Linked DNA regions of Homo sapiens: regions 1, 2, 3, 4, 6 and 7 are each linked to region 5. The links are contacts of gene promoters, found by promoter capture Hi-C in blood cells and fetal thymus (Javierre and others, 2016). All regions are on one chromosome and are shown on one strand. The core of a region is centred on a gene start or on the middle of the fragment in contact, and the rest is flanking DNA. Distances in the headings are between cores, read along the strand shown.

What was found. Contacts are between HindIII fragments. The CHiCAGO score rates a contact against its expected background, and 5 or more counts as called.
Region 1: a contact is called between a fragment that was not itself captured here and the fragment with the promoter of NDUFB8 in region 5, in 2 of 17 cell types (endothelial precursors and M0 macrophages). The highest score is 6.7, in endothelial precursors.
Region 2: a contact is called between the fragment with the promoter of CHUK here and the fragment with the promoter of NDUFB8 in region 5, in 5 of 17 cell types (monocytes, erythroblasts, neutrophils and 2 more). The highest score is 6.6, in monocytes.
Region 3: a contact is called between a fragment that was not itself captured here and the fragment with the promoter of NDUFB8 in region 5, in 3 of 17 cell types (naive CD8 T cells, total CD4 T cells and M1 macrophages). The highest score is 10.0, in naive CD8 T cells.
Region 4: a contact is called between a fragment that was not itself captured here and the fragment with the promoter of NDUFB8 in region 5, in 3 of 17 cell types (activated CD4 T cells, naive CD8 T cells and naive CD4 T cells). The highest score is 8.1, in activated CD4 T cells.
Region 6: a contact is called between a fragment that was not itself captured here and the fragment with the promoter of NDUFB8 in region 5, in 3 of 17 cell types (endothelial precursors, M2 macrophages and M0 macrophages). The highest score is 9.7, in endothelial precursors.
Region 7: a fragment that was not itself captured here is called in contact with the fragment with the promoter of NDUFB8 in region 5 in 4 of 17 cell types (naive CD4 T cells, naive CD8 T cells, naive B cells and 1 more); the score reaches 6.4 in naive CD4 T cells.

Annotation. Positions count from the first base shown.
Region 1 is chr10:100,895,066-100,898,457 of GRCh38, forward strand. No RefSeq gene overlaps it. Among named protein-coding and RNA genes, the nearest start is that of SLF2, 16 kb to the right of the region's middle. The HindIII fragment of the contact is 1,755 bases long and covers 506-2,260 here.
Region 2 is chr10:100,228,079-100,231,514 of GRCh38, forward strand. It overlaps CHUK (component of inhibitor of nuclear factor kappa B kinase complex), which reads right to left and starts at 1,518. Exons shown (of 21, transcript NM_001278.5): 1 at 1,350-1,518. The coding sequence starts at 1,454. CHUK-DT (CHUK divergent transcript) reads left to right here and starts at 1,582. Exons shown (of 4, transcript NR_186419.1): 1 at 1,582-1,646; 2 at 2,937-3,048. RefSeq lists silencers at 1,256-1,495, 2,565-2,827 and an enhancer at 1,606-1,655. The HindIII fragment of the contact is 6,397 bases long and covers 1-2,500 here.
Region 3 is chr10:100,260,514-100,264,434 of GRCh38, forward strand. CWF19L1 (CWF19 like cell cycle control factor 1) reads right to left here. Exons shown (of 14, transcript NM_018294.6): 2 at 1,466-1,550; 3 at 453-531. Among named protein-coding and RNA genes, the nearest start is that of CWF19L1, 5.2 kb to the right of the region's middle. The HindIII fragment of the contact is 1,848 bases long and covers 1,103-2,950 here.
Region 4 is chr10:100,996,890-101,000,758 of GRCh38, forward strand. It overlaps LZTS2 (leucine zipper tumor suppressor 2), which reads left to right and starts at 2,919. Exons shown (of 5, transcript NM_001318100.2): 1 at 2,919-3,063. RefSeq lists an enhancer at 1-7 and silencers at 91-380, 2,171-2,580, 2,681-3,060. The HindIII fragment of the contact is 2,612 bases long and covers 1-2,556 here.
Region 5 is chr10:100,527,653-100,531,506 of GRCh38, forward strand. It overlaps NDUFB8 (NADH:ubiquinone oxidoreductase subunit B8), which reads right to left and starts at 2,219. Exons shown (of 5, transcript NM_005004.4): 1 at 2,115-2,219; 2 at 1,728-1,854. The coding sequence starts at 2,199. RefSeq lists enhancers at 914-1,083, 1,926-2,508, 2,642-2,691. The HindIII fragment of the contact is 5,505 bases long and covers 1-3,854 here.
Region 6 is chr10:100,872,084-100,875,531 of GRCh38, forward strand. No RefSeq gene overlaps it. Among named protein-coding and RNA genes, the nearest start is that of SLF2, 39 kb to the right of the region's middle. RefSeq lists a silencer at 395-464 and an enhancer at 1,939-2,605. The HindIII fragment of the contact is 3,257 bases long and covers 1-3,091 here.
Region 7 is chr10:100,914,132-100,917,891 of GRCh38, forward strand. SLF2 (SMC5/6 complex localization factor 2) reads left to right here. Exons shown (of 20, transcript NM_018121.4): 2 at 1,868-1,911; 3 at 2,439-3,169. Among named protein-coding and RNA genes, the nearest start is that of SLF2, 3.0 kb to the left of the region's middle. The HindIII fragment of the contact is 1,881 bases long and covers 712-2,592 here.

The sequences.
Region 1 (3,392 bases), core at 133-2,632, 370 kb after region 5:
TCTGCCTCCTGGGCTTGATTGAGCAATCCTCTCACTTCAGCCTCCAAAGTAGCTGGGACTACTGGCGTGTGCCACTATGCCCGGCTAGTTTTTGTAGCTTTAGTAGAGACGGGGTTTCTCCATGTTGGTCAGGCTGGTCTCAAACTCCTGGACTCAAGTGATCCACCCGCCTCAGCTTCCCAAAATGCTGGGATTACAGGCGTGAGCCACCGCACCCAGACCACAGGGTAATTTATTATCTCCAAGTAGGTGTGAAATAAATGCCACAATGGAAGGACAAGCAAAATAATAGAAGGGCTGGGGTTTTCGTTGTTGTAGTTGTTTTTTAAATAAGCCCCAAGGATCCTCCTCCACCCAAGCTTGCTGCCAAGTCTAGATCTCCTTCACCTTCTTGCAGTGGGTCCTGGAACCAGCCTGCTTTCCTCTCCTTGGGGAGGTACCTTTGCCAGCCTCCCCAGCTCCTCCTTTCTTGCTGCTCCCCAAAGACAAATACATTTTATTTTAAAGCTTTTATTGCTTTGCTGCTACTGATTTACTGCTAATCACCATGGAAACAGACGTGGAAAATATAAACAACACGATTGAGGAAGCCACACATAATCAAGAATCTTACAGGTGTAACAAGGTTTGGTTCCCCCGCCTGCCTCTTGACTCCTTTATTTTTGGTTTGTCTTTTTTTCTTTCTTTTTAAATTTTTTTTGCAGTTCTCCCATCTGTGCCATCGACTCCTTTCTGAAATGGTTACTGGAAGCCCTCACTGGGTGCTACCCTCCCTTTCAACTCTCTCTCCTTTCTCTCTCCCTCTCTCCCTCCCTCCCTCTCTCTCTCCTTGGGTAGCCAACTATCCATCAAGCAAGACCCACTCAGAGTGGCCATCAGCTTTACATTGGGGAGGGGGCCTCTCACCTCACAGGAGTTCTGTTCTCCCAGGCCTCTCTTTTATTGGGTTTTCATCTCTGTATAACACATTAACAAATAGGCCAGACAGGTAATCTGTGTGTCTCCAAACCAAGGATTAGCTAAAGCCCAGTAAATCCCAGTTGGCCCCAGCAGCCTTTGTCTTCAGGAAGCACCAGCCCCTGATGAATTCTCCACTCAGAGAAGTCCCCTCAGCCCATCAAAGTCCCCCATCACCACCTGATACCCCTCCTCTCCAAACATTGTAGTCTCCTTGCTGCCAACTGGCCACTTTTTGTCCGGCTCTGTGTTCCAGTGAGCATCCTCCGCCCGGGAAAGGCTAGCTTTTTTTTTTTTTTAAGACAGAATCTCACTCTGTTGCCCAGGCTGGAGTGCACTGGAGTGCAGTGGCATGATCTCAGCTCACTACAATCTCCATCTCCCGGGTTCAAGTGATTCTCCTCCCTCAGCCCCCCGAGTAGCTGGGATTACAGGTGGCCACCACCACGTATGACTAATTTTTGTATTTTTTAGTAGAGACAGGGTTTCACCATGTTGGCCAGGCTAGTCTCGAACTCCTGTCCTTAAGTGATCCGCCCGCCTCAGCCTTCCCAAGTGCTGGGATTACAGGAGTGAGCCACCGCACCTGGCCAAAGCTGGCTTTTATGCTGGTACCATTGCTACCTCCCATTTAAACACAGCTTATGAAAACTCACTGTGCTCAATATCTTTAAATGATTGTATCTACATTTCATTTACTTATGTATGTATTTATTTATTTATTTTAGAAACAGAATCTCTGTCACCCAGGCTGGAGTGTAGTGGTACAATCATAGCTCACTGCAGCCTCAAACTCCTGAGTTCAAGCAATCCTCCTACCTCAGCCTTCCAAGTAACTAGGGCTATAGGAGCATGCCGTCATGCCCAGCTAATTTTTTTTTTTTTTTTGGTAGAGAAGGAAGTCTTGATATGTTGCCCAGGCTGATCTCGAACTCCTGGCCTCAAGTAATCTTCCCATTTCTGCCTCCCAAAGTGCTGGGATTACAGGCACGAGCCACCATGCCCGGCCCCACGTCCACATTTTATATTGACCCAGCTTGCCAGAATATTTACATAAAGCTCTGAATCACACAAGAAGACAGCCCAGAGGGTCTGTTTACATAGGAAAAAGAGCTGATGATTTATTAGAGGGTCTGAGGTAATGTCAATTCCAGGGGGTCAGCTGGAAAAGAGAAAAATAGGGGTTGGAATCTTAATAGTCAGATGAATGTCAAGCAAGCCCCATCTGACAAGGGGAACACAGGTCAGAGGTGGCAGCAGCAGGACAGAGGAATCAAAGGAAACTGCAGTGAATCAAGGGTGAAGCTTCAGACTGGGCAGCAATATCTCAGTAGCCTACACCGAGGTGAGACCACACACAACCATACAACTGACGAGTGACATTCTTGGACAAGGCCTAACTGTCCACTGCCTGCACTTTATATTTTATGTTGTTTTTAACCTTCATTGTTTTCCTGATTACAAAAATAACTCATACTCATTGTGAAAATGTCAAAAGTTACAGAAACATATAAGGTAGATGTTAAAATCCTGTCTTTCAGAGATATAACCACTTTTAAGTTGAGGTGTATTTATCCAGATTGCTTTCCCTGCATATATGAATATTTAATAGATATAAATATATATGTAAAGTTTACAAAATTTATTTTTATAATAAAATTAAAAATGTAAATATAATATAAAAATATAATATAAATTTTGAAATTTATATAAAATATTTTTATAAAATCATAGCCAGACTTAGAACTTAAGCAACCCTAAGCCTAAAAATGGTTACTCTGTCCCCTGGCCCTACACATGTATAATTCAAAATTAAAATACTAAACAAAAAAAAAATAAGCAAAAAGTCAAAGTTTTAATTTTTTCTTTAATATTTATTTCAGTATTTTTTAAATGTATTCTTTCAAAAAGTTGTGGGGTTTTTTAGGTTTTTGTGTCTGGTTTTTTTTTTTTTTTTTGTCTTTTGCTTTCTTGGTGCCCCAAGCATATACCTGATTTGCAAATTAGATAATCTAACAATTCATACAGTACATATTACACATTGTCTTGCAACTTTTTTTTTCTTTCACATAAGATATATTTGGGGATCTGTCTATGTCTGTATCTAAGCATGACTGTGCCTGGCAGGCGTGTGAGCTCCTCTCCAGAGAAAAACAGAGTCTTTCAAATGCTGGTGCCTGTAGCCAAGGGTTAGGATCTTGGAGGAATTTTTCATGGCTTTAATAAATTAGTGTTACAACCACTAACTGGCAAGGAAGGTTTCTCCAGATTCAGAATTGAGTTCACAAGCAACTGAACTGCCTTCAAATCTTTATGGGAGGAGGTGAGATATAAATGAACTCATTCATTTATTTACATGTAGTTCAACTCAGGAGCAATGAATGTTCTCTTCATAATTAGGAGAGTGTGATGTGAATCCATTGGTGAGAAAAAAT
Region 2 (3,436 bases), core at 268-2,767, 300 kb before region 5:
AGTTGAGGGCTTTCATGGGTCAGGTACCGTATTTAGCTTTACACACATTACTATTTTATTTAACTCTCAAATCCATGATGCATGTAATTATTATACTATACTTACTTTACAGGCAACAAAACAAAGCCTATATTACAGGAATTATTAGTCCAGGGTCTATTTACCTAAAATGTCCTTTAGGAAGGCACGAACCTCTCAAATGGCAATGCATGGTTGTGTGAATGTGCATCTGTGCATTTTTCTGGGGAAAGGGTTCACAGCTTTTATCGGTATATCAAAAAATACATGTCCCAGGCCTGGTGCCGTGGCTCACGCCTATAATCTCTGCACTTTGGGAGCCTGAGACAGGTGGATCGCCTGAGGTCAGGAGTTCGAGACCAGCCTGGCCAACATGGTGAAACCCCGTCTCTACTAAAAATACAAAAAAATTAGCCAGGCACGGTGGCGGGCGCCTGTAATCCCAGCTACTCAGGAGGCTGTGGCAGGAGAATCGCTTGAACTCGGGAGGAGGAGGCTGCAGTGAGCCGAGATCGCGCCCTGCATTCCAGCCTGGGCGACAGAGTGAGACTCCGTCTCAAAAACAAAAACAAACAAACAAGACCCAAATATGATTTTTTAACTGCTACTACAATGGTTAAACATTCTCTATTAAATCAAAGTAAAATTCTTGAGTCTGATGTTAACTGTCCTCCACCTACTAGAGCGCCCCCCATCTCCATCTACTAATATAGCCTTTCGTTTGAAGCCATGCTCTGCACCAACTCACCCTCATACTGTCCCGACCTGGAATACATCCCCAATTCCAAAGCCCATCCATGCTTCCAAAGGCTTAACTCTGGACCCATCATGAAGCCTTCCTTGTCTACTCCAGTCCCCACTGATATCATATGGCCTCCAAGCGCGCGCGCGCGCGCGCACACACACACACACACACACACACACACACACGGACGCACACATTCCCAAAGGCAGTCCCCTTCAGCCCTCTTCTCACACATTCGTGCTCCTACATACACACTGTGACGTGCATCTGCCTCACACACCCTGACACTCCACATTCACAGAGACACACACGCACTGTCACACTCACTAAACACCTGGTCACAGCCTGACAGTCATACCCAAGTTCCCCGCAACAGCTCTATCTATGCCCAGTACCTCAAATACAACTTTGGACACACAGGCATAGTATCTTTCTCTCTAATACACACACACAAGCCCACTGGCCCCCAAATACTGCCCAAGGTCCCACCAACCATCTATCCCACACTGTCAGCCCTGTGTTCCACAGACGCTCAAACCCACCGCCGCTCCAACCCACCGCCGCTCCCTCTCACGCCCCGCCTCACCCGATGCTGGTACAGACAGACGTTCCCGAAGCCGCCGGTGCCCAGCCGCTCCCGCATCTCCCAGGGCCCGCCCGCGCCCGGCCGCAGCCCCGGGGGCCGCTCCATGGGGCGGGAGGGCAAGCGGCCTCAGGTTCCACAGTTGTTCCAAGGCCGGTTCCGGGCCGCCGATGCTCGCGCGTCTTTGTTCTCGCGAGAATGAATGCGTCACTTCCGGTAACCGCTGCGAGAAGGCCCTTCCCTAAGTTCTCCCAGGGCGCTGCCAGAGCCCTGCCGGCTAAGGGATGGGGAAACAAACAGGTACTCGGTCCGCTCTTTAAGTCCCCTACGTATTTTCCGGGAGGGCTGAACGGAACCACAATGTTTTTCTAGTCTTGGAAAACATAAGATCTCTCCAAACCCCACATTCCCGTCAAATCCACTTTTCAAAGCAGCCCAGTCTCTCCTGTATTTTTTTCTTTTTAATTAAGATGGGGTCTCGCTCCGTTGCCCAGGCTGGAGTGCAATGGCACGATCACGGCTCACTGCAGCCTCGACCTCCCGGAATTAAGCGATCTTCTCACCTCCCGAGTAGCTGGGATTGCAGGCGCGCACCACCTCGCTTGGCTAATTTTTTATTTTTTGTAGAGACATGGTCTTGCTACGTTGCCCAGGCTGGTCCCGAACTCCTGGTCTCAAGTAGTCCTCCCACCTTGGCATCCCAGAGTGCTGGGATTATAGACATGAGCCACCGCGTCCAGCAATTAGTCTTTTCTAAACTTCATATTGTCTCTACTCCTATCTACACTTCACCTTTCTTCAGATCCCTGCCATCTATCCTCCAACTCCACCACCAGCTGATCCGGCACGCTAAAGACCACCAATGATTTAAAGGCTGCGAAATCGTTAAAATACTACGCTAGCAGGCCCACTAATGAATTAGCCTTCTTGTTCACTGACTTCCCAATACACCTGCTCCAGGATATCCCCTGTCATCCCAAATGACTCAAGAATGTGACGCTATTCCGGAGTGAAGAGTGTTTCTCGGGATTTCGCGAGCTTTTTTCCTAGATGCCTCACAGAGCTTGCTGTCCGGCAGTCCAGTTATGGGTTTGCCAGCACAGTAGTTCATTGTGAGAAGTGTTTCTAATGGGTGCTACAGGGCTGCAGAGGCAAGCTTTGGGAATGCTGTTGGTGCAGCAAGTGCTTCCGGGTGGCGGATTGCCATAGCATAGGGGAAACAACTCCTGGTCTTCCATTTAAGAGGGTCATACCTTCACTGTACCTGGGGGATCTCAATACTCCAAGTAAAGGAATCAGCATGGAATCAAATTATTGATAAATGTGATGCTGCAACCAGAATGTTGAGCACTGCATGATACAGACGAAGTCGATGTTGTAGGTCATTAGTAACATGTGGTATGGGAGGTTCTGGTTTCTGTAAGTGCATGGTTTCCATGGACTTGGAGATGATGATGCCTCTGAGGACATGTCATTTAGAGCTGGGCAGACCGCACAGAGAATTGTGGTACAGATTGTTGTAACAGTATGAAGCCCTCTCATTTGCTGTATGTACAGCATGGCCAGTGCTAATGTGCTCAATTTCCGTAGGTGGGGCTGTAATCTCGTAATTCCCAGTCAAAAGAGGTAGGAAGGGATGCTGAGGACCCAGGGATACTGATGATTGGGCTGACCCAGAAGTGGCCATCTTTGTGGAAACCAGGTTGGTTCCCTTGGTTAACTTTTTAAATGCCCCCATTCCCAGGGCCATGAGTAATTTGAGTTGTTTTTTGTTGTTGTTGTTGTTATTGTTTGAGATGGAGTTTCACTCTTGTCACCCAGGCTGGAGTGCAATGGTGTGATCTCAGCTCACTGCAACCTCCACCTCCAGGGTTCAAGCAATTCTACTGCCTCAGCCTCCCGAGTAGCTGGCATTACAGGCGCATGCAACCACGCCCAGCTAATTTTTTGCATTTTTAGTAGAGACGGGGTTTCACCGTGTTGGCTAGGCTGGTCTCAAACTCCTGATCTCAGGTCATCTGCCTGCCTCAGCCTCCCAAAGTGCTGCAATCACAGGCATGAGCCACCTGGCCTGTTTTTTAAAAAGCCTA
Region 3 (3,921 bases), core at 777-3,276, 270 kb before region 5:
TTTTATTTATTTTATTTTTTTTTTTTTGAGACAGAGCCTTGCTCTGTCGCCCAGGGTGAAGTGCAGTGGTGCAATCTCGGCTCACTGCAATCTCCGCCTCCCAGGTTCAAGCAATTCTCCTGCCTCAGTCTCCCGAGGAGCTGGGATTACAGGCATGCGCCACCATGCCCTGCTAATTTTTATATTTTTAGTAGACACACGGTTTCACCATGTTGGCCAGGCTGGTCTTGAACCCCTGACCTCAGGTGATCCACATGCCTCGGCCTCCCAAAGTGCGGGGATTACAGGTGTGAGCCACTGCGCCGGATAGTCTTAATAATGAAAAGCAACTTAAATTCTTAAATACTGAAAATAACTCTTAAATTCTTAAATAATGAAAAACAACTCTGCAAGAACTCTGGCCCTTGAAATTTTATTAGAAATCATATGTTAAATAAAAATAATTTCTATACCTTTCTTGATGCCAGTCTTATACTCCTCCCATTCAGCATCTTGGGTGGAGCCAAAGAAATTTCCTACACACAACAGCAGCTAAAATGAGTTTTTTAAACAGATATATGAGATTTTAAAATATCAAACAGTACATAATTGATAGTAATATTCAACTAGTTATTTAATAGTTTCAAATCAGTTTTTAATTCTTAATCAATTTGCAGATTTCAATATACAATTCTTTAGCAGCAACTGTTAACAGTTACTGATTCTATGAATTATTAAGTTTTGGCTCTTTGGCTGTCAAATTCAAGTTAGAGATGGGTAAGAGAGAGTCAAGGAACTAAACTTTTAAAGTAAGTTAGAATTCAAGTGCTCCTCAAATTCCCAGTCCCACTCTGCCATTCATGGCTCTCTCCACATATCCTTCCCTGGAATATACAGTCACATAGAAATAGATCTTTAAAGAATCCCCGTGTGAAACAAAAAAACTTAAAATATTAGAATCTGAGAAATACAAGGTATAAAAAACACATTTCCTGCCTGTTGTCTTTACCCAACCTTTAACCCAATGAACAAATTATCCTCATACCTGGAATACTCTCTTCTGTACTCTTAGGAGTTTACAGTCTAGTTGGCAACCATACACAACATTCATATAGAGCTTTTAAGCTTGTGATGGGTTGGTATGTATGTTACCTGACTTAATCCTCATCACATTCATGAAATAGATCTGTGCTTCCCAAACCCAGAGGTCAGAATCACTTAGGGAAGTGTTGCTAGTCTGTTTTCAGTTTTTTGTACAGTGATAAAGTAACAATATTCAAATTCAAAAAATATAAAGATCAATAGTAAACAGTAAATAGGTCTCCCTCCCCCAGCCACTCAGCAGCTACTAAGTTCCTATGCTCATGAAGGGAACTCAATTTAACAAAAATGGTATGTGTTCAATCAAGACTTAAAGGAGTGCAAACTTTATTTTTATGTGTGACTACAAAGGTAAAATTAAATTCAGTAAAAACAAACATCTTACATCAAAGTTTCCACTTTTCTTCTGAATTGCTTGAACTCTATTGAATAAAATATCAAACTTTCCTTCAACATCTCCACAAGCCAAGCTGCAAACAAAGAGATAAACATTATAGCAATTCAGGAAACAAATGGGCCTGCCGGGTTTGGTATATACTGGTCTTTTGGATTAGATAGATACATGATCTAGTCTCTCTGCAGTTACCTTGCAAGGTTCAGTGCACGTAAACCACTGGGCAGATCCACTGAGGGTCTCACCAACACCTCCCACTCGCCGTATCTAAAATTTAGCTTATCATTTACTCCACAATTGAGCCAGCTTCTTCTCCTCATTCCTAAGTTTTGTGGACATGTCTATGGCTGACATGGTCAACAAAAGTCAAAAATCCCCCATCCAGTCACCAAGTCCCATCAATCCCTTTTTCCAAACATCTTTCACATTCATTCTATCCTTCTTATTTTGACTCCTCCTATCTTAGTACGACTCCTCCTATCTTAGTACAGGGCTTCAGTCATTCATTTGATAAACAGGTACTGGACACCTACCATACGCTAAGTACAATATGCCAAGTATACTATGCTAAAAACATGTTAGCAGTACAAGGTGGAGGAAGACTCAGTTTAAGCCTCAAAGAGTTTATAATCAGGGAAAGGAAGACACTCTAATCATTATAAATTTATAAGAAAAGGGCTACAACAGAGGTATGTGTGAAGTGTTATGGGGCAGGAAGTAGAAAATGGCAAGAGCTGACATTGGTAAGGTAAACTGGCCCTACGTTGTGAAGTGACTTTTACTATCATCTCATTTCTGAGATTTTCTAATTCTGATTTATGTGGTTTTTCCACGGCTTATATCATTTCCTTAATGTCTTTTAACTCATCTTGAAATATTAAAATTTTATTGTTTTGTGAGTGTCTCTTTCTGGCGTGCTTTTATTGTACACCTCGCCAAACTTTTTTTTTTTCTTTTTCTGAGACAGGGTCTCACTCTGTCACCCAGGCTAAAGTGCAGTGGCACGACCTTGGCTCACTGCAACCTCCACTCCACTCCACCCCACCTCACCCCCTTCCTATGGCAGAGGAAGAATCAGACAAAAATACAATGCATCTAGTGTTAGATTCAAAGTAGAGAATACATTTATGTTTCCTCTAATGCCTTCTCTTCCTCCTGTCCATCCTACAGAAAGTAGTCAGTTTAATGTTCTTTCCTCAAAACATTAAGAGGTTCCCCACTGCCTATAGAACCACAGCTTTCCACAGGCCCTGACCTGTCACCTTTCTAGTACTTTCTCCAAGTTTTCTTAACTGAACTGGCAATTTGATTACTCTCTGCCTCTGTCATTCCCTAGGGTAGTTCCACCCTACCCATCCTAAATCCAAGTTTTTCCCATCCTTCAAGGTTTAGCACATTTCTGAAGCCTTCCTGGCTGGCTCAGAAGTCATTACCTTCTCAAAAACTCAGAAAACCACATTACAGCATTTCAGAGAAAGCTTTGTCATAAACTAATATGACTTTTATTTATATTTTGAGCACCACCTCCTCTAGGAAGCCTTCTAGTACCTATCAGTTACCAATTTCTAGTGTTCCCATAGGAGCCTGCATTTCTTCCATCACAGCAGTTGTCACACGGAATTACCATTGTCTCTGGGAGATCCACTGTCCAGTTTATACATCACCAGGTGCCTCATCTCCTCATCTGGGCCCTTTTCCACTGTTCTCTATCCCACTGAATAAAGATAGAAATCTATGACCCAACAAGGCCAGCTCCTTTTCACTCACAATTAAACCATCACAAGCCTTGTTGATTTTACTTCCTTAATAAACCCTGAATCCCTAAACTATTCCTCTGTCATCACTCTACCTAATCCCAGCTGTTCTCTACTTTGGCTCTGATTTGTTCTCCACATTGCAGACAGAACTGCTTTCCAAAATGAAAATTTGATCATGCCAAAGCGTTCTTAAGCATTTCAATAACCTTTTTAGGTTAAAGACAAGAATACAGTTACGTGCCACATAACAATGTTTCGGTCAACAAGGGACCACATATGTAATGGTGGTCCCATAAGATTATAATGGAACTAAAAAATTCCTATCGCCTAGTGATGTCTAGCCATTTGTAACATCATAGTGCAATATATTACTCATTTGTTTGTGGTAATGCTGGTATAAACCTACTGGGCTGGTGGTTATAAAAAGTGTAGCACATACAGTTATGTACAGTATACAATATTTGATAATGATAATAAACAACTATGTTACTGGTTTATGTATAATATTTAGCATGCTATGGCCAGGTGCGGTGGCTTACGCCTGTAATCCCAGCACTTTGGGAGGCCAAGGCGAGCGGATCACAAGGTCAGGAGCTCGAGACCATCCTGGTTAACACAGTGAAACCTCATCTCTACTAAAAATACAAAAAATTAGCCGGGCGTGGTGGCGGGCGCCTGTAGTCCCAGCTA
Region 4 (3,869 bases), core at 1-2,500, 470 kb after region 5:
TTCCCCAGGTCAAAAACCAAATCCAGTAAGCTGTGAAGTCAGAGGCCAGAGGGGCAGCCTCGGCCACCGTCGAGTCACTCTTAGGCTGGGCACTGGGTCGGCTGCTGGTGGAGTGCGGGGCAGACCACTCCCCTCCCTGGGTGGGGGGCGCGGCCTGAGCCGCCCCGCCCCGCCCCGCTCCACCAGGTCGGGCCAGGCGGGCGCCGGGAGCTGGGAGCCGGGAGCCCAGAGTTCGGAACCTAGAGTTCGGAGCCGGCTAGGGAGCCGGCGTTGTCGCGGCGAGGAGGTGGGCGCGCTGGAGCAGGAGCGGGGCCGGAACTGGAGCCGAGGCGCAGGTGGCGCTGGGTGAGTGGTGGGGCGGCGGAGGTGCAGGAACTCCCGCCTCCCGCTCATCCCCGCTCCTGAACGAACTTTCCGCTTCTAGGGAAGCTAGGGGTTGGGGTGAGGAGGGGGGTCCGCACTTGGTGGGGTCCCCGCGAAGAGTCCGAACAGGGAAGTGACACGAAAACGCACGCCGACGGGCCCCACACACGCGTGCACAGACCCACGCCCGCACTTGGGACACGCGAACACACATGCACTCGGAAAGGACGCGCCCAGTTGGCCACCCTTGCACTCCCAGGGACAGCGCCAGCCGGCCCGCGCGGACCCACAGCGGGCAGGGCACTCTGCGGTCGCGTATTGGGTGCGGGAAAGGGGCAGCCCTGTGACTACCGACGGGGGCGGGCCGGGTGGGACGCACCCGGAGGTTCCTGCTTCCTGGCCTCCCGCAGGTGAAGACCAAGACGTAAACAGACGCCGAGCACGTGACAGCTCCGCAGACCAGTGGCCTGTGCCCCCAACCCAACCACGGGGCGGAAATCCACCCTAGTCCGGGGCGCGTTTGCTTGGTCCCAGGCCGGACGGCGTTCCATTCTCCGCCTGGAGCGGGGATAAGCCCTCTCCCGGGAACCGGAGCACAGCGCCCCCTGGAGCCGGGGCGGAGCAGGAGGGCCCGGCTGCTGGGCAGGGCTGGGGTTAACTCGGGCTCCTGGACGTCCTTCTCCCCAGCACATTCTTGGTGTCTGCATCCCTGAAGGTTTCGGAGACAGGCCCTTGATGGCAGTGGACAGCTGCCCCCGCCTGTTACCGCCAGCCCAGAGAGCAGCTGCCTGAGCGCCTGCGGGTCCCCTTCCTACCCTCACCTCCACTCCTTGCGGGAGTCGGAGTCTCCTCCCCCCAGAAAATGCATGAGTGTAAACGCTCCCTCAATACCAGAGTGGGCCTGCCCCCCTAGAAAAAGGAGGACGAGCCCCTCCCCCCAGGGAATGAGGGAGTGGGCAGTAGCCCGATGCCTCCTCCTCGCCCCACCCCCTACCCCTACACACACGCTGAGCCCAGCTGCCGCCTGAGCTGGGCAGGCTGCCAGAAAGAGGAGGAGGCTCTCGGTGCCCCAGGAGGCAGGGATCAGGGCAAGGCCAGAGGAGGGGGCTCTGCTGGGGAGAGGGGCTCAGTCTGTTCTTGTGAGGCTGAGGGTCTGGGGTGAGTCAGGGTGGCTGGGCTGTGTTTCCCTTTCCAGGGAAAAAGAAAGAAAAACAACCCTGTCCATGGAGCTAAAAATAGAGCTGAGAGCCGGCCAGGGCTGTGGCCTGGAAGGGGGGGATGCTCCTTCCTGGGGCCCGGGCGAGCTCCGGCAGGCCTTGGCCCTGCGGGGGAGGGGGTGGTTAGGGGAGAAAGGCTGCCTTTGCCCAGGGATGCAGGCATCAGCTGACCTGACCGGGTCACCGAGACCCCTAGGGGAAAGGCTGTGCGGTAGAATATTTGTGAAGCACGGCGTGTAAGAAGTTGTCTGTGTGAGTGACTGTGAATAGAGGCTGTCAATGCGTGAAAGATGGTTAGGAGACTAAGTGCACTTGAGACTGTGACTGGGTGCGAAGGACTGCGGATTGTTGTGGAAGCCTGTGCCCAACAGGCCTGTGACACCGTGTCTGTGTGTGAGGTGGACTGGAAGATTATGGAAAGAAGGAACGCGGACCCACGTGACGGCTGAGACTGCGGCTGCATGTGGGAAAGGTCTTGTGGGTGTTAGGGAGACTGTATTGTGTGCGAGAAGGTGAGACTACTTGACCCTGAGGAAGTGGAATATTGTCTGCCGTGAGGCTGGTGTAGGTTTGGGCTGTAGGCTTGCACCGGTTCGCCCCAGTGATTGTTGGGGAGCCAGGGGCCGCTCCTCTCCGATAAATGACCTCTCTCTTAGCAAGTGATCCCGAGGGGAGGCTGGGGAGCACGCGGTCGCGCCAGAGGCCGGCCTGGGTTCGCGGGGAAAAGGGCACCGTGCCGGGGAGTGGGGCAGGGCCCGCGTGTTGGGGGCGGCTGGGTGTGTTCTCCGAGCCGGCCGCCAGGTGGCGTCGCCTCCGCGAAGCCCAGGTTGCCGCCTCCAACCCGCCGTGGGGCAGGCGCGGATCGAGCCTCGGCCTCCTACTCGGGCTAGGGCGCGGGGTCCCGGCACCGGAGAGTGGGGGACGGCCGGCCATCGGCCTCTCGCTTGGGACTCTGAGGCTGAGAGCGTGTCAGGGAAGCTTCGCCTGGAGAAGCGGAGGGGGAGGGGCGGCCGCCGCCGCGCCGTGGCCCTTTGTGCTGGAACAATGACCAGCTGCCGCTGGCCCCGGGGCCCCGGCTGGGGTTGAGGGTGACCACCGCCGCCGCCGCGTCGAGCCGAACCGAGCCCCCAGACACGCAGTCACAGGGCGTCGGAGGGAGGGCTCCCGACTGCCGCCGAGCAGCCCCTACGTGCGCCCCGGCGGATTCGCGTGACGCGGGTGCTTGCGCGTGTCCGCGCCCCGGGGCGGAGACGCCCCTCGGACCCTCCCCTGCGCGGTGCCGCCCACTCGCACCGGGCGGGGGCTGGCCAGGGCCGGGGGCGCCGCGGAGGCGGAGGCGGGGCTGGGCCGGGCAGCTCCGAGTGGCGGCGCGCGGGCCAGGGCCGGGGCCGGGGCCGGGGCCGGAGCCGGAGCCGGGGCCGGGCGGCGCGCCTGTGGAGCGCTGGGGGCGGCCTGGGGCTGAGCATGGAGCAGCGCGGCGGAGGTGAGGGGGGCCGGGTCTGGGAGGCGGCCTGGGGAGCCCCCAACTTATGCGCGGTGGAATCCAGCCGGGGGGACGGCGTTCCCCAGTCGCCCCCACTTTCTGGAAGGGGGGCTGGACTCTGGAGAATGGGTCAGGGGCTCCTGGCTTCCCGCCGCAGAATGGGAACTCGTGATCGCAGACTTGACCCCGCTTGACTGGTCCTTGGAGTTTGGGTGGGAGGGAGACTTTCCCCAACTCTTCAGATCCGTCTCCGGCCCTGAACCAGCTCCAGCCCTCTGCTCTCCTCAGCCCACTAAAAGGGGGGTGCTCCTGGGCCAGAGTGATTGCTCAGGGAGTGCTGGGGAGAATGAGGGGTTCCCATCTCCCACAGCCACAAACGCATTTCTCAAAATGGAGCCTCCACTTGCCCCTCCTTCTCTTTCGGGCTCCAAGAGCGGGAGCCGGCCTGGCTGGGCCTGGCTTTCCAGACTCCTGGCTCTGGCTCCCTGGATGTGTGGCTCTCAGGGCCCGGCTCTGTGGCACTTTGGACTTATGGGCCCTCGGCTCCGTGGGGTTGGGGGGCCCTGGCTCACTGGGTCCCGCTGGCTGTCCCCTTGTCGGCCTGACCCTCGGGCCTCTCCGAGTCTTTGTCTCTTTTGGGTCCCTGTCTTTCTCTGAGCCTGTCTCCTTCCTTCAATTTTCACTTTCTCCGTGCTCGCTGAAGTGGGGAAATGCAACAGAGGTGCCAGCCCCCTTGGCCCCCTAAGAAGTCCCTTCCCCACTGTTCACTCCACACCCTGGAGTGGGCCCAGAGAGGGGAGGGGAGG
Region 5 (3,854 bases), core at 969-3,468:
AAAAAGAAAAAAAGTCACACAATCGTGTGATATTAGAGATGAAAGGGAATTTAGCAATCAATTACAGTCATGTGCCACATACCATTTCAGTCAATGACGGACAACATACACGAAGGGGGTCCCATAAGTTTATAATAAAGCTGCCCTATACATATGTACCATTTTTTATCTTTTTCTCTTTTTTGAGACGGAATCTTGCTCTTGTTGCCCAGACTGGAGGGCAATGGCACAATCTCAGCTTACTGCAACCTCCACCTCCCGGGTTCAAGCAATTCTCCCGCCTCAGCCTCCCAAGTAGCTGGGATTACAGGCACCTGCCATCACGCCCAGCTAATTTTTGTATTTTTAGCAGAGACAGGGTTTCGCCACGTTAGCCAGGCTGGTCTTGATCTCCTGACCTCGTGATCTGCCTGCCTTGGCCTCCCAAAGTGCTGGGATTACAGGCGTGAGCCACTGTGCCTGGCCCATTTTTTATCTTTTATAGCATACTTTTATGTACCTTTTCTATGTTTAGATACACAAATACCATTGTGTTACAATTTCCCACAGTATTAAGTATAGCAATATGCTGTACAGGTTTGTGGCCTCAGAGCAACAGGCCATACCATAAAGCCGAGGTGTGTAGCAGGCCATACCATCTAGGTTTCTGTAAGTACACTCCTAATGTTCATACAATGAGGAGATAACCTAACAACCCATTTCTCAGAATGTATCCCTGTTGTTAAGTGACATATGACTGTACTCTGATTCCCTCATTAGATAGAAAATGAAAAATTAAAGTTTAGAGTCTGAATCCAAAGTCACCCAGCTAATTGGAATAAAAACAAAAAGGGTACAGATTAGAAAAGCACTCTTCTCGTAATAACTGTGTTCTTGACCACCCAGTTGGCATTCATCTCTGCGTCTCAAACACCTCATGGGACCTCTTGCTAAGCTGGGTTTTCCCCAACAAATCCAGGTTCATCTGACACTGGCTTCGAACAAGGCTGCTCTTGTCCACAACATAAGAAAAAACAGGAAATGATGACAACTAGACATATGCTACAGAAAATGAGTGTATAACAAGAAGAATAGAAGTTGCTGAAACCAAGATTGAAAGAGTGACATTAGGACAGGAAATAAAGGCGATGATAATCACTTCAGATAATTAACCATTGGGATGTTATGTGGGTATGGATACGGAAGAGTGTGGAAGGGATAGGATAACATCAACTGGAGTACGTAAGGGGGCTGGCTGTTTAATCTGCTTAATAGTTGCTACGATTTCCACAGCACTAACAGAAAAACATTTTTTTTAAAGAGACATACACACAAATATAGAGTACTCCGTTTACAAATAAGATTCTCATGACAGGAGTCCAGCTCCAGCCTGGTCACATGCCTGGATGACAGCACCTGAGCGCAGCAGATGCTCAATCTAAATGAAACTCGACGCTCTGGATAGAGCCAAGGAAGGCTCCTGCTATTCGGGGGTCCTCGAGGGAGCCATTAAAACCTCGGCTTCCTCATTTGAGGAAACAGCCTGAGCCAAGGAGAAAATTGAAGTCCTCTCAGCTGCAGCTGCTCACCCACCCCCCTCCCACCTCCCTCCACAGAGAAAAGCACCCACTCCATTGACTCTGAGGGGTCACGAGAAGGTTCGGGAAAAAGGGTCACAGTCAAGCCACCCAACCCAGCCGGCCTTCTCCCATCACTACTTGGGTGCGAGCATACCCTCTCTGTCTCACCCCATGCCATCATCCGGGTAAGGTTCGTAGTCTTCCACACGCATATTATACTTCTTGGCGGCGGCGGCCCGTTCTTCTGGGGTCCTAGGATAGGGCCCCGGGAACATGTCCTTGGTCATGTGGGAGGCTAGAACGCAGAAGAGAACAGGTCAGAAGCGAGCCCGCTCTCCAGCCGCTCCGAAGGCTTCAAGTCGCAGGGGCTGCAGAGGTCCGAGCCCGGGACTTCGCAGGATCAGTGCGATCCTCCACCCCATTTTCTGGATATATCAACGCCACCTCCACTCCCTACCCGGAGGCTGCCGCCGCGGCATCTACGATCCCCCCTCCCGATACACCAAATTTCAGGTACCCCCTTCCCACACTGAGGTCTCGCCCGTTCTCGCGGACCTGTCCGTGCGCCCAGCGGCATCACGTTCCGGGATGCCCTTTGCAGCCACTGGACTCCCAAGACCCCGGCCCTGGCCACCGCCATCTTCACCTTCTTCACGTTTCCCTTCTGCACATGCGCAAAGGCCTGTCACGGCGGCTGAGCCGGGCCAAACGTGACGGAGGAAGCCGGGAGTGAAGAAAAGCCGAAGGGTTCAACAGGGGCGGGGTTTAAATACGCAGTTGGGAAGCCAAGGGTTGGATAGAGGCTGGGAAGGATAAGCGGGAAGAAGGGAAAACCAGGCAGGTCTCTGACATTTCAGAATGTTGTGTCCTTTTTCTCCCTGAGCTGACTTAGACCCATCCAGGGATGATGGGAACTCGGAACCTGAGCAACTCAGGTAGACAGCTTAACCACCTCCCCCAGGAGCTGTACTAGTGAAATGAGCCTGTCTTACTCTCTTCTCTGGCTGCTTGCTTTCCTCTCCTTCACGGGCACTTCCTTCCATCCCCAAACATGATCATTCTTCAAATTCACCTGTTGGTCTTGCTTGTTGTTCTGTTCTCCAAATGGGTTGATCTTCACTTAGACGCCAGTGCAACACACAATTCGGCCCTGAATTGGCTCCTTAGTTTCAGTCCGTGTTTCCATCTGCATGTCTCAGTCACCTCAACCCAACAAATGTAAAATTAAACTTATCACCAGAGGCAGCTCTCCAGAGACAGCTTAAAGCCTCAGAGTTGGTAGGACTTGGATAAAACAAATTACAAACCGGCCCATAATGAACAAACTAACTCAACAGAAGAATTGGAGACATTATTATGTTTGCATATGAATGTTTTCACTTGGGATTTGAATAACTTACACATTATAAATATGCACGTATTTCCAGTGACTTTTCAGGTGACCACTGTTTTGGAGCAGAACCTATTATTATAAACATTCTCAAGTATATATCAGAGCAATAAAAATGCATATAAGCTGGGAGCTGTGGCTCACACCTGTAATCCCAACACTTTGGGAGGCCTAGGTTGGAGAATGGCTGGAGACCAGGAGTTTGAGACCAGCCTGGGTGACATAGTGAGACTTCGTCTCTTTTTTTTTAAGTTATAAAAAGTAAACAAATATGGATATATACTATTTAATATATAAATTTTGGGAAGGACTACACAGCAACTTGCTGTCTTGTAAATGACATCACTAGTTGATGTTCAGAATAATTGCACAACATCTGCATTCAACCAATAGCAAACCCTGATCCAATTTAGGTCAAGAAACAGAGTTGATCTAATTTATTTATTTTTATTAAGATATTATTCACATACCATAAATTCACCCTTTTAGGCCGGGTGCGGTGGCTCACGCCTGTAATCCCAGCACTTTGGGAGGCTGAGGTGGGAAGATTACTTGAGGTTAGGAGTTCAAGACCAGCCTGGCCAACACAGCAAAAACCCATCTCTACTAAAAATACAAAAATAGCTGGGCATGGTGGTGTACACTTGTAATCCCAGCTACTCAGGAGGCTGAGGCAAGAGAATCACTTGAACACAGGAGATGGAGGTTGCAATGAGCCGAGATCACGCCACTGCACTCCAGCCTGGGTGACAGGGTGAGACTGTCTCAAAAACAAAAAACAAACAAACAAAAACAAAAACAAAAAAACCTTTTAAAGTGTACAGTAGTTATTTTTAGTACATTTACAAAGTTGTGCAATCATCATCACTATCTAAAACATTTTTATTGCTTCCGAAAAAACCCAT
Region 6 (3,448 bases), core at 213-2,712, 340 kb after region 5:
GACCTTCAGCCTGGGACTAAGAGGAAGGTAAATCACAGAGGCGGACAAGAGAGACACACCACATGCACTGCCCGGTTCACGGGCACCACACTGACCCCATACACAGATGCCAGACTTGGACACACAGCCGCACATGGTGCTTGCATCATGCACATTCACTTGCAAAGCCCCAGTCCCACACAATCATGGTCTCTAAATCGCCAATCCCGCACAGCTACACTTTTGGGCAGTTTGAATCAGGTCCAGGAGCTATAAGGGAGGATGACCAGACAAAAAGGGACATGAAATCATTGCCCATCTGTGGGGCTCTCATCGGGTGTTGGGAGGGGGTGTCAACACCGGGGAGAGGTCGCCCCCTGCTGGAAAGACGACTGTAACCACTTCCCCATCCAAGCCTGCCCAGCTAATCTTACCCCTAACCCTCCCCTAGTAAGACATCCACACACACCACACATTTATCCACCACACTCTGCCTAAGCCCCAGCCAGGCTGCATAACTCTGGGTTCTTTTAAAAACATGTAAAATCTTTGATCATCATTTGTTTAAACTGTATAAATAATCTACTGGGTTTTAATAGGATTTTTCTATGAATCGGCAACAAAGCATGAAATGTGATATTTTCACCATGAGTAGTTGGGAAATTAGTCACCTCTGTCCATGGCTCCCTGCTGGCTGGAGACCCCCAGGCTGTCTGGTTCCTGTCTCACCTCCACCTCAGGCCTTTCAAATGCTACCCCGACAGCTCCTGCCTTTTTGGGGTAGTAGGGGGAATTCTGTGGTGTCACTATGAGGAGGCCTGCTGGTTGTCTCCTCGTCTCAAAGCAAAGACCAGGCTGCCCTGGGTTCCCGTTTCTCTGATTTATCAGAAGTCAGGGTCTTTGGTTCTCTACGTCTCATTGCGGGCTACAGTGCAGGTTGGGATGGGGAACAGGGATGGGCAGTGGGTTTAAGGATAGTTATTTGGGGCAGAAGAAGTTCGAGGGCAGAGAGTTGGAGTCATTCACAATTTTCCCATCTTCCCCAAAGTTCTGCACACTTGTTCACTCCCCAGGCTGTTCCACACTCACAGCAGCAGGACCCACACACCCCGTCAAGGAGGCTGGGCCTGTCTCCTGAGGTTTACAAACTGCCCGCCCACTCTGGGAGCAAAAGGTGCTAAGTCTGGGAGAGGAACAACTGTTGGGGGCAAGGAAGGGTGAGAGATGGAGAACAGATCTAGGGAAGCAGGAAATGAGGGCTTCAGGGATGGCAGCCAGGCAGGGATCAGAGATGGAGGAATCAGAGATAAGACCAGGACTTCGGAGTTAGATGGATGAGGCAGAGATGGTGGAAACTGCCCAAATATGCAAGCGAGGCTTTCAGTCCAGCTCCCAAATGACTCCTGACCCCAGTCCCCACCACCAAGTACAGCAGTCCCAAAGAATGCCTCTTACGCCTCACTGCCCTGTTGGGAAAAGCCAGTGGCAATGCCAGTGACCAAGAGCCTATGCAGCAGGGCTGGCCCTGAGCTACCCAGATGGGTCTTGGGCCACCCAGGTCTCAGGCCAAAGCCTGGTAAGCCTCAGCCTCAGAGCTGGGCATGGGCCATGGGGGAGGGGGTTGTGGGGCCCCCTCCTTGCCCTGAACCACAGTCCACATGCTCCGAGCTGAGCAGGGCCCCTTCCTTTCTGCCCCCTGCCCCTGGCCCTAGATGAATAAAACTCAGGGGGCGGGGGGAGCTATTCATGGAACCAGAGAATGTGTGAGCTGCCCAGCAGCCCCCTCTCATTAGGGGACCCCCGTCAGGTGGCGCTCATTAACTTCAAGTTGTCTCTTGTTTTAAAACTCGGGTGAGGGGGGCAGGGTGGAGGGGCACATTGTCTGGCTGCTGCCCCAGAGAGATTAGGCGCCCAGGGGGAGGGGGCAGGCAAAGGCCCTTTAATTAGTTACTTTCAAAGGTTCCCTGTCCCCTTTCTCTCGGGTCCCCTTCCTAACCCCCGGCTGGGCCCAGCTTCGAGGGGGGCGGTCTTTTCTGCTTGGCAGAGCCGCCTGGTCACTCGGCTTAAATCCGCAGTCTTTGTTTCTGCCTGGACAATGGGCCCAGCACATCAGCCATGGAGGCCACGGAGGAAACAGGGCCTTCTCCTGTGCGGCCAGGAGCCGGCTGAGTGGGGTGCATCCTGGCACCAGCCTGCAACCTGGGGCCCCCAACAGGGGGCTGGTACCATGAATGCTTCCTAGGCTGAAAGGAAGAGGATAGGAACACACACACACACACACACACACACACACACCTCAAGACCTAGCTATTACAGAGGAAAAAGGAGAAACAAACCTCATGTCAGGGTCTCCTTCACATAGGAAGTTTCTAGGTCTTAGGGCCTGGCTCAAGGATGGGGGTGCTCTTCCTTTCTATACAGCAGAAAAAATGGTTTATGAGTCAGGCAGATCTGGGTCCCAATCTTAGCTCTACTACTCATGAGCAAATAATTAATCTCTCAAACTTCAATTTCCCTCATCTATAAAATGGAGAAAATAATGACTGCCTCTTGGGTTGTGAGGATTAAATAATCTAACTGGGTAAAAGGGTCTGGCACAGTGCTTGGCACACAGTAAGGGCTCAGTACCTGTTAGTTTCCTCCTTATATGGTTCCTATGGCCAGAGCCTTACCCTACACCCTCTACTACTAAGGAGCAGGTGCGTGGGACCCTTTCAGCTTCAGGGTGCCGGTGGCCGACACGGACTAAGCTCCTGCTGGGACACACATGCAGGAAAAGACTCAGAAAGCGCTGAGTGTGCAGACATGAATGAGGAGGAAGGAGAATCCCAGATTGGGAGTGATGGGGTTGGGGGTGGGTACCAAACAGAAAAGGGTGAGTGGGAACATGAGGAGGTAGAGGAGAGTGAGCCAGCTCTGGAGATCCTGGGGGGGTGGTCTCTGGGGGAGGGATTGAGAGGCTGTGTTGCAGGAAGAGTTGGTGATTTGCTTGGGTCAGCAGATTAATGGCACTAACGAAGTTTCCGAGAGCATGGTGAATTGGGGGGTCGGGGGCGTCCATGTGGAAAGGCACATGACTGGGGATTGATCAGGCTGAAGATGAAACAGAGAAAGCTTCCCGGGCAGCGGAGGTAGGAAACGCCAAAACCAATTACTCCCCGGCCCCTCTGGCCTCCAGATCTCTCCCCTAGAGAGGAGGGAAGGGGCTGTGACCTCTCTCTGTGGGTGAGGTCACACACATAGGCCACTCACGTGGGTAGGTGACGCCGCAGGTGCACAGGGGAAGGTCCACACATGGGAACGCATGTGCACAAGGGAAGGTCCACGCGTGGGAATGTGGAGACCTGGGGTGTGATGACGTTGCAAGTTCTGGTCTGTATGCCCTTGTGGGTCATTTGACTCCCCACAGGTGTCCCCACATTCCACCTAAGTGTCCCTATCCAGTCACCACACTTGTCACCAGGAGGAG
Region 7 (3,760 bases), core at 402-2,901, 390 kb after region 5:
GGAGAAATGTCAGTGGATTTGATTACAGGTTGCAGCACCAGACCCCACTGGGGACTTTCCATAATACATCCAAGTTATCCCCTTCCTAAAATCTGATAAATTCAGAATTCTAAAACACATTTGGCCCCAGAAGGTTCAGATAAGGGTTTGTGAAACTGTTATAATTGTGTGTGTGTGTGTGTTTTTTTTTAAGCCAGTTGTTAAATAAGCAGTGGACATTTTGTGTGCATATGAACTTAGAGAACCTACCTCTTGAAAGTTACATTCATGGTTATTTTACAGGTTTCTTGTATGTTTTACCCAAAATCATTTTTTCTCTTTCTGGTGTATTAATCAAAAAGGAGTCTGAGGTCCAATATTTTAGGGAAGAGATACAGTGTTACATTTAGTAAAATGCATTTAGAATTATCTTGTGTGCAACAAATGAGCTGCTTCTGGGTCCCTTCCCATCTCTCCTCAATCAATAACAAGATCAATAACAAGGTATCATCCTTCTTCCCTTTGCAGAACCTCCAACATTTACTCTGGTGGAGTTAATTTGCCTAGTATAATTTATGTAAACAAATGCATATATTCTTCCATAGCCCGTCACTCATATTCATCTCATAAGCACTTAGCTTTTATACCAGCATCTCAAACAAGCGTGATGGACTTGGTAAACCAGTAAAGATGTGCATTGCTCTTCTAATGTGACCAGTAAAGTGTACAAGAAGCTTAACCTTCAAGAAACTTGGATTGTTGGAATTTTCACTGAGCATTCCAACCTCATAGTGGATGAATGTTTAGGGAAATCAATAGTCTATAGCTTATTCTCTTTCAGTAAAATGATACATTTTAGCAAAATTTACCAGAAAGTTAATTTTTTGTTCAGCATATCATAACATCCCCTTTTTTGCAGCTGACAACTCTACAGTGAACAAATCAGAATACGAATTCTGGTAATGGATTCCTATTTCACTTTAGCATTATTGCCAATGTCAGAACTTGATTAGTTAAGCCAGATAATGAAATCCAGTCTTTACGGTACAGAAATTCTTAAAAATTAATTTGGTTTTTGTTATTCTTGTTAACTTTCTTCCTTTTCTCCTTGTGTTTTTCCCAAGCAATGTGTTATTTTTGTAACTATCTTAAGGATTCTTTGATAAAAAATTAAGAATTTGAAACTAGTTGTGACAACTCATTCTAATTTCTGCTGTTACTTAGATTAACATCTTAATGTATAAAGAGGGTAGCATAAGTTTGGTATTTTTCTTTTCTGCCCTTGTCCAGCAAACTCCTCTTCAACTGATTCCCTAGATCAGCCAAATCACCTGTATTGCCATTCTACCATCTACTGTTCTACTCTTGTTATGAGAGTCTGTTCAAGTTTTACTCCATTTTTATAATCCCCATTATTCATTTGGCATACATCTATTGAGTTTTTTTTTAGCTTGTTATTCTAAATTTTAAAACGCAGCTGTGCTTAGATACCAAGTAATTATTTTGTATCAATGTCTGCAGAGAACAAGTAGGTTCATATGCTGATACCCAAGATGTTGCATTCTACCATGTAGCCGTGAACATTTCAGTCTTAAGAAGCACTCTGTACTAATTCCTTGGGTCTACACACCAGTCTGACCTATTTAAGTACTATAAATAATATAAACCTCAGTTGTATTTTTATAAATGAACTCCTATAGGAAGTGATACGTTATATTTTCTGTTTTTTTAATGAACAGTTTAGCAAAGCATTGTTACCATTGTCAGAACTTTATTAAACCAAATAGTGAAATCCAGCCTTTATTTTATAAATCTTTCTCCATTTAATCTGAGTTATGAAGGTTTTAATATTTGCTTATATGATGCCATATTATGCTTTTATTTTCAGGAAGCAGTCAATTATAGATTTCTTCAAACCAGCTTCAAAACAAGGTATGTACACTGTTGATGCATTTTTTGTGGGCTATTTTGGGGGTGAGGAGAGAGACAGATTCAACTTTAAAACCTACTCTAAACTGTTTTAGTAAACGTAGTGTTCAAAATTGAAAATAAAATGAAGATGCAGTATTTTGTTTTACAAGGATAAACTGAAGTTCTAAATATGAAAGTCTTTTTGCTGTTATGTTTTCTTACATTTAAAATATTATTCTAGTAAAAAATTTAATGTTCATAATACATACTATTTTGATTCTCTAATACAGTAATTTATAGAGCCATAGGGAGGTTATATGATGTACCAAAAGAGAGCTTTATGAAACTAAGGCTTTTAACAAATAAATCATCTCTTAATTTCTCCTATACCCCCCAATAAAGTGTGTATCATTATCCAAGTTGTTGGTTTGAAAATTTTTGTGGTAACATTAGTATAGTTTAATTTATATTTTAAACATTAATAATTTAGATAAATATTAAATATTTTACTAACATGCAATTTGTATGTGTTTTAATTGGCTATTTAGACAGACACATGTTGGATTCACCACAAAAATCAAACATCAAATATGGAGGAAGTAGATTGTCTATCACTGGGACAGAGCAGTTTGAAAGGAAACTATCCTCACCAAAAGAATCTAAACCCAAAAGGGTGCCACCAGAAAAGAGCCCTATTATAGAAGCTTTCATGAAAGGTGTTAAAGAGCACCATGAAGATCATGGTATACATGAGTCACGTCGGCCTTGTCTGTCACTAGCCTCCAAATATTTAGCCAAAGGAACAAATATCTATGTTCCTTCTTCATATCACTTGCCAAAGGAGATGAAGTCACTAAAGAAAAAACATCGATCCCCAGAGAGAAGGAAGTCACTATTCATTCATGAAAATAATGAGAAGAATGATAGAGATCGAGGCAAAACCAATGCAGACTCCAAAAAGCAGACCACAGTGGCAGAAGCTGACATCTTCAATAACAGCTCCAGAAGCCTTAGCAGCAGGAGCAGCCTGTCCAGGCACCACCCGGAAGAAAGCCCACTGGGAGCTAAATTCCAGTTGTCACTAGCTTCTTACTGCAGAGAACGAGAACTAAAGAGGTTGAGAAAGGAGCAAATGGAGCAGAGAATCAACTCCGAGAATTCTTTCTCAGAAGCAAGCAGTCTTTCCTTAAAATCTAGTATAGAAAGAAAATATAAACCAAGGCAGGAACAAAGGAAACAGAATGACATCATACCTGGAAAAAATAATCTGTCAAATGTGGTATGTGTAAGAATTATTGAATTAGCATTGCTACTGCTATGTCATATTTAGAATACTAAATTTAAAAATATTTAAGAGTTGTTACATCACATTGACGTCTTTCCTGAAGGAAATACTTATGCACAGTTTGTGTAGAAGCTGGTTTCATTACATTTCCTCCAGTTGCCCTTCATCGAACTCAGTAAAGCAGTGTTTCTTATCCTTAGTTTTTTCAGACTGGGAACAAAGATCTTTTTTAGTCAGAAAAGTAAGCATTCTTTTTTTTTAAGGCAAGTATAGTCTTACTTATTTATGTGTAGACAGTCTTGCTCTGTTGCTCATGCTGGAGTGCTATGGCGTGATCATGTCTCATTGCAGTCTCAAACTCCTGGGCTCAAATGATGCTCTCACCTCAGCTTCCCAAGTAGTCGAGACTCCAGGTACCTGCCACCATATTTGACTAATTTTTGTATTTTTTTGTAGAGACAGGTCTCCCTATACTGCCCAGGCTGGCCTTGAACCCCTGGCCTCAAGCGATCCTCCTGCTTCCTGTACTTTGGGAGGCCTAGGTGGAAGGATTGCTTGAGCTCAGGAGTTTGAGACCAGCCAGAG